Regions from separate parts of the Homo sapiens genome. Here region 1 is linked to region 2. The links are contacts of gene promoters, found by promoter capture Hi-C in blood cells and fetal thymus (Javierre and others, 2016). All regions are on one chromosome and are shown on one strand. The core of a region is centred on a gene start or on the middle of the fragment in contact, and the rest is flanking DNA. Distances in the headings are between cores, read along the strand shown. Region 1 overlaps STAG2 (STAG2 cohesin complex component). Region 2 holds the start of INTS6L (integrator complex subunit 6 like).

Region 1 (3,772 bases), core at 918-3,417, about 12 Mb before region 2:
CAGGAAAATTCCATTTGCAATTTTTGTAAATTCTGCTTAGTGTCTATTTCATCAAGTTGGAGTTACAGTGAGTCAGTATGAAAGGGATTTACTATTAATAGGAGGGGCTTTGGCAGTTGCAGTAAGTGACAGTGGAAGGGATTGAGGTACCATAGGGAGCATTCCTGGTAGAAAGATCTAGGTAGCTGAATTCAGTTTCAGAATTTGGTGTTTAATGACTAGGTAGAGAAGTGGGTTGGAAAAGAAATGTACTTATTAGCTATTCCTTCCCACTGTGAAGTAACTATAGTATTCTAAGGTGTATCAGAGACTGGCAGAGAGGGTGGAGTGGGTTTTTTTTTTTTTAACTGATAAGAAAATGAGTGTTTACATTTAAAATGGTTTAAATCACCTCATGCCCCAAGGATCTGGTGCTATAACTAGTTAGAAGTTGATATGTAAAATATTTCAATATTGTCTGTTAACATTCTGACCATTACCCGTAAACAGTAAAAATGTGTTGCAATGACAATCCTTGGTCTCCCTTAATTAGTGCATTTGTGAACTGCTCCTAAATTCTATTAAGGTAAGTGCCTTTTTTTTTTTTTTTTTTGGCAGTTCTATACTGTTCAGTGTCAGGTTTATTTTTTTCCCCCAGGAGATACATTTTAAAAATACATGTCACAGTTCCGAAAGGAATCCAAAACAATGGATATTTAATTTATAGCAAAATTTCACCCCAATCTGGGAACAGACATTTTGTAACTGTTACCATTAGTCTGTTTGTGTATTTCATATTCAGGATTTTAGCTTTAGAAGGATGTTAAAGGAAAATAGGTGACATATTTCAAATTTTTATTCATATACAAATATTCTTAGTAGATGGTAAGGATTGTGGCATCAGATTTATTTTATTGTGGTGAGGCAATAGCTAAACTACTACACTAACACATGATGAGTTTGGTAACTTTCAAGTATATTTAGTTAGGATTTTTTAAAGCCCAAATGCTCAAATAAGATTTTCATGAAATCAAATTCTACATTTCTTTTTCAACTGTATTGACTTCTGCGGTCACCTGAGGACTTATGAATTAAAGTGAATGGGATGGGCTTGGGGGACAGGCTAAGGCTCAGATCTATTCCTTTGGGAATTTAGGGTTAGATGTGAAAATATGCAGTTTAGTAATGCTTAATATTGTGCATGTTTAACTGATACCACCCACAGTCATATGTGGGAAGGTAGTAAACAGAGAATAGCATAATCTTTCTGCTTCGGGTTCTTTATAATAGATGGCAGACTTCAGTTTTTGATGCTGCAAGTTGACTTTTGAACTTAAACCAAAATCGGCGGGGCACAGTGGCTCACACCTGTAATACCAACACTTTGGGAGGCTGAGAGGCTGAAGTGGGGGGATCACTTGAGCCCAAGGAGTTCAAGACCAGCCTGGGCAACATAGGGAGACCCCATGTTTATAGATAATTTAAAAATTAGGTGTGGTGGTGCACACCTGTGGTCCCAGCTATTTGGGAGGCTGAGGCAGGAGGATCACCTGAGCCCGGTACATAGAGGCTGCAGTAAGCCACGATTGCGCCACTGCACCCAGCCTGGGCAACAGAGCAAGACCCTGTCTCAAAAAAAAATTAAAAATAAACTAAAATGTACAGTTTACTATATAATGGAGTACCGTTTTGGGAGTTGGGGAGAATAGCGAGGGAGAGGGATAGTTTCAGGTATGGGCATCAGTATATACTGAAGTGTGATTGTTGGAGAGTAAGGAAGGAACTTTAAAGACATAGGCTATTTTAAAAGTTTTTGGCTGGGCACCATGGCTCACGCCTGTAATCCTAGCACTTTGGAAGGCTGAGGCAGGCGGATCATGAGGTCAGGAGTTCAAGACCAGCCTGGCCAACATGGTGAAACCCCCATCTCTACTAAAAATACTAAAATTAGCTGGACGTGGTGGTGCGCGTCTGTAGTCCCAGCTGCTTGGGAGGCTGAGGCAGGAGAATCGCTTGAACCTGGGAGGCAGAGGTTGCAGTGAGCTGAGATCGCGCCACTGCACTGTAGCCTGGGCGACAGCGAGACTCCGTTTAAAAAAAAAAAAAGTTCTTAACATTTTTCTGCATTGGCTACATGTTCAGGACTTTAGTTCGTGTTTCAGTACTGTCCCTGTGTAATAATTCTTTATGTTTCTGGGTATCATAAATGATGGTTATTGCGTGTTCTGATTGGCAAAGATATATGATAAAGCAAAATTATCAGTTTGATTTTTCAGTCTCTTGAGTTGACTGCTTTACGTTTAATTTACCCAAATTTTATATTTCTTCAGTGTAAGTGGTGTTGCTTAGTGGAGTCTAATTTTTGTTGATGTGCCTTTTAAAAATCTATGCATCTTCAGCAGCTGTGGTAATCTGCTACCTGAATTGTGTTTTTAATGTGTGCTTGCTATAGATCTTTGATACTCACCAGTAGACACCAAGAAGTCTTTACATATGGTTATTGTAGTAAGTCAAGAAGAGATTTATTTATTTTTTGAGACGGAGTTTTGCTCTTGTTGCCCAGGCTGGAGTGCAGTGGCATGATCTTGGGCTCCCTGCAACCTTTGCCTCCCGGGTTCAAGTGATTCTCCTGCCTCAACCTCCCAGTAGCTGGGATTACAGGTGTCCGCTACCACGCCCAGCTAATTTTTTGTGTTTTTAGTAGAGACAGAGTTTCACCATGTTGGTCAGGGTGGTCTCAAACTCCTGACCTCAGGTGATCCACCCACCACAGCCTCCCAAAGTGCTGGGATTACAGGCGGAGCCACCGTGCCTGGCCAAGAAGAGATTATTGAAATTGTTTTCCATTCCTTCTGCCGAAGAAAGAGAGGATGAATAATGTCAATGGTGTATTTTTTTTTTTTTTTTTTTTTTTTTTGAGACGGAGTTTTGCTCTTGTTGCCCAGGCTAGAGTGCAATGGTGCGATCTTGGCTCACTGCAACCTCCACCTACTGGGTTCAAGCGATTCTCCTGCCTCGGCCTCCCGAGTAGCTGGGATTACAGGCATGTGCCACCACACCGGGCTAATTTTGTACTTTTAGTAGAGACGGGGTTTTTTCCATGTTGGTCAGGCTGGTCTCGAACTCCCGACCTCAGGTGATCTGCCTGCCTCGGCCTTCCAAAGTTCTGGGATTACAGGCGTGAGCCACTGCGCCCAGCTGGCCTATTCTTTTTTATTACAGTCATGCATTGCTTAACGGCGGGCATACCTTCTGAGAAATGCATCTTTAGGTGATTTTGTTGTGTGAGCATCATACAGTGTACCTACACACACCTAGATGGAATAGCCTACTATACATCTATGCCATATGGTATGACCTGTTGCTCCTAGGCTACAATCCTGTACAGCATGTTGCTGTACTGAATATCGTAGGCAGTTATAATACAGTGGTAAGTATTTGTGTTTGAAAACAAAAAAGATACAATAAAAATACGGTATAAAAGAAAAAATAGTACACCTCTATAGGGCAGCTCCCTTATAATCTTATGGGACCACTGTCTTTTTTTTTTTTTTAGATGGAGTCTCCCTCTGTCGCTCAGGCTGGGGTGCAGTGGCGAGATCTTGGCTCACTGCAACCTCTGCCTCCTGAGTTCAAGCGATTCTCCTGCCTTAGCCTCTCAAGTAGCTGGGATTACAGATGCATGCCACCATACCCGGCTAATCTTTGTATTTTTGGTAGAGACGGGCTTTCACCATATTGGTCAGGCTGGTCTCAAACGCCTGACCTCGTGATCCGCCTGCCTCAGCCTCCC
Region 2 (3,440 bases), core at 393-2,892:
AATGTTATTGAATGTGCATATATAATATATGAAACATATACACAGAACATACATATATATATAGAGAGAGAGAGAGAGAGAGAGAGTGTATATAAAATATATAAAATACTTTTTTGAGATGTTATCTCATTCTGTTGCCCAGGCTGGAGTGCAGTGGTGTGATCTCAGTTCACTGCAACCTCCGTCTCCTGGGTTGAAGTGATTCTCCTGCCTCAGCCTCCCAAGTAGCTGGGACTACAGGCGCCTGCTCCCATGCCCGGCTAATTTTTGTATTTTTAGTAGAGACGGGGGTTTCACCATGTTGGCCAGGCTGGTCTCAAACTCCTGCCCTCAAATGATCCACCCACCTCGGCCTCCCAAAGTGCTGGAATTACAGGCATGAGCCACTGCGCCTGGCCAAAATATATAAAATATTATGTATGTATATGTCATCATCTCTCCTCAATGAAACTGCAAACTCATTGAAGTCCTGGATTCCACATTGTCAATAGTAATTGCCAGGAATACACAAGTCCAATTTTTAAAATTGTGTCATATGAAGTAGTCAATCAAGTGTGGTTGGCCACTTACTGAGTCTCTTCACAGAGCCAGACCTGAGAGTATCCGTAATTGTTACCCTAACCTCAGGGAGCTGCATTTTCCTCTACTGAAAATTGAATACAATGCCATCTGCCATAATTAATTCAAAGATTAAACAAGGCTACCGTGGGTGCCTGGCTCTTCATAGGCACTCAATAAATGTGAGTTGAGAGCCTGCCCCTGTGGTCCCAGCTACTTGAGAGGCTGAGATGGGAGGATCGCTTAAGCCCAGGAGCTGGACGCTGCAGGCAGCTATGATGGGGCCACTGCACTCCAGCCTGGGCGATCAAGCGAGATCCTCTTTATTTATTTATAAAAATAAATAAATAAATAAATATGTGAGTTGAATCACAATCTAGGTTTGCAAACCTCCATGTGTAAAGGCTGCGCAGAGGGAACAGTGGTGGAATTATCACAGGCAGGCCAATGTTTCAAAGAGCTTAGTGAAACTGAAGAAGCTTGTGCATACAAAAGGCCAGTTTAGGTAACTGTAACTGTGTTTAAGCTTTAGTTTCCTTTCTAAGTAGATATATGTGGAATGCAAGGCCAGCAACCAACTCACAAATACTGATCAAGACGGGGGAGGGATCTAAAGGAATGTGAGTACGTCCTGCCAGGAAAGAAGTTTGCTGCTTCTGAAATATTTTCGTCTTCGCCACTGGCAGGATTGATCGATTGCAGTTAGCGAAGAATTTTCTGTGCAAACTGTCCAAGCATCTGCTTCTGTACTTCTGTACAACTGTTGCTCAAATTCACTCTTCTTTTCGAATCACCATCTTTGAAGAGAGACAGAAAAATCCATTTAAACCACCCGAACTAATCATTCGAACTGCTTCCAAGTCCTTTAAAGGAGAATCCTAGCGAGGGTCCGTAACACTTCCCCTTACCCTCTGCCTGGGTTCAAACTTCAACTCCCAGGGTTCGCCCAAGTCCCTCCCCTAGTCCTGTCATCTAATGAATATGCAAATACCACATAATTGGCAGCCAATGGCATGGGTTCTGGTCACATGGTGCCGATGGTAGGTGAGCAGACAGAAGTTGTCAGTGAACAGAGACGGCGCTCAGTCTGGGGCGAGCGCTCTAGTGAGCGCGGACGGATGCTTAGGCAGTAGTCCTGGCAGCGGCAGTAGTGGTGGCAGCAGAAGAGAGGAAGGGGGAGGGCCCCGAGGGCTACACACGCTCACACTTTCAAGTTCCCTTGGAGGGAGAGGAGGTGGGGCTGCAGAAAGAGGAGGCCAGGAGCGGTCCCATCCGTCCCGTCCCGTCCCGTCTCCCCCTCTTCCTCTTGCTCCTTGCTCCCCGGCTCTGCGAGAGTTGAGGGTTCAGGTGGCCGTACGCGGCAGTGAGGGCAAGAGGGCCGGGAGAGTGGGGAGCGGAGGCAGGAGTGCGGGGGAAGATGCCCATCCTGCTGTTCCTCATAGACACGTCCGCCTCTATGAACCAGCGCACTGACCTGGGCACCTCTTATTTGGACATTGCCAAAGGCGCTGTGGAGTTATTCTTGAAGGTAAAGGGAGGGGAGGGGAGAGATGGGGAGAGCTCCCGAGGGATTTCAGGGTGTGGATTGAGGTGCTTCTGTAACGTTTGTATCGCCCTCCCCCCTCCTTTCCTACGCGACCCCCTCCGTCATCCCTTGCCCCGCAGCTGCGCGCCCGGGACCCGGCCAGCCGTGGAGACAGGTACATGCTGGTCACCTACGACGAACCCCCGTACTGCATCAAGGTAAAGGGGCTACGGGTGGGGGGACAGGCGGGAAGCGGGAGCAAGTCGGCGGGGGCTGCTTACCCCCCTGCCCCCGCCTAAGGCGGTCCTGCGTCGCCCGGCGGGGCGGGCGGCGAGGGGGTGCGCAGAGGGCGGGCGGAGTGGTGCCGTCGGCGGCTTCGGAGTAGCTGTCGCGCCTGGGGTCGGGGAGAGGGGACCGGGGAGGAGCAGCCCCGGGGAGAAACCGCAGGAGGGCCGAGCTCGTGGCGCGACAACCGCAGCCGCCTCGGAACATGGCGGACATTTTGCTTTTGTATGAGCCTGCGAGAGGGAGACTGAGGGCGCTGCTGAGATGGAAAGGAGGGAGGGGAGGGAGGAGCGGGGAAGGAGGGCCCGAAACCCGGAGGGAGGCTGCGAGGCGGGCCCGCCCCTTCGAGGCGCACCGCGCGAGGGTCGCCGCGCGGGGGGCCGGACGGAGCCTGCGACTCCGCCCCGAGGTCCTGCCGGCCGGGCGCGCGGGCTTTCCCGGAGCCTGGGCTCCTCCTCTGGCCCCTCCTTCCTCCCCCGGTCTTCCTCCCCCTCCTTGGGCTCTTCGCTGCATCTCCTCCTTCTCCCCCTCTTCCTCCTGGTCCCCTCCCCTTCCTGCTGAGAGCGTGGCAGAGCCAGCCGCCGGCCTTCAAAGACTAGACAACCGCCTTTGCACTCGTTGGCCTCTCACCACCCCCGCGCAATCGGAAATCTGTCCGCGACGCCAGTCTCCCCACCCCCAGACCCGGAGAAAGTCTTTGCGTTTCTGCTCCGGAATTGGCCAGGTTCAGCCCCGCTCTCAGTTACCTTAGCTACTGTTACTGTTTCATTGGAAATTCCAGCGAAGCAACGACACGGAGGGGGACGTGCCAAGTGCGAACCCACAGGGGCAGAGCTTTTTAGGGATCCGCTCTACCTATTTACATCATAAATTAGGTTTGTGCTAGCCACGTAGGAATTAATCCAGGGACAAGAAAGAAAGGAAGGGGAGGACTCAAATGTGAGCATTTGTAATAGTCAAGTTCGATGATTTGATTCTGACCTACAGGAGAAAAGTAGGGAGGACGGTCTCTGTGGGGTAATTTATGTTCCTATGGTGAGGAGATAAAGAACTGCTGCTTTGCCTGCAGTGG

Evidence for each region. Contacts are between HindIII fragments. The CHiCAGO score rates a contact against its expected background, and 5 or more counts as called.
Region 1: a fragment that was not itself captured here is called in contact with the fragment with the promoter of INTS6L in region 2 in 1 of 17 cell types (M0 macrophages); the score reaches 8.0 in M0 macrophages.

Annotation. Positions count from the first base shown.
Region 1 is chrX:123,964,387-123,968,158 of GRCh38, forward strand. All of the region lies in intron 1 of STAG2 (STAG2 cohesin complex component), which reads left to right. Among named protein-coding and RNA genes, the nearest start is that of STAG2, 4.6 kb to the left of the region's middle. The HindIII fragment of the contact is 7,160 bases long and covers 1-3,772 here.
Region 2 is chrX:135,519,018-135,522,457 of GRCh38, forward strand. It overlaps INTS6L (integrator complex subunit 6 like), which reads left to right and starts at 1,643. Exons shown (of 18, transcript NM_001351601.3): 1 at 1,643-2,086; 2 at 2,224-2,301. The coding sequence starts at 1,976. INTS6L-AS1 (INTS6L antisense RNA 1) reads right to left here and starts at 1,657. Exons shown (of 2, transcript NR_046740.1): 1 at 1,550-1,657; 2 at 1,066-1,355. RefSeq lists enhancers at 1,797-1,876, 1,907-1,966 and silencers at 2,217-2,486, 2,547-2,746. The HindIII fragment of the contact is 2,771 bases long and covers 1,083-3,440 here.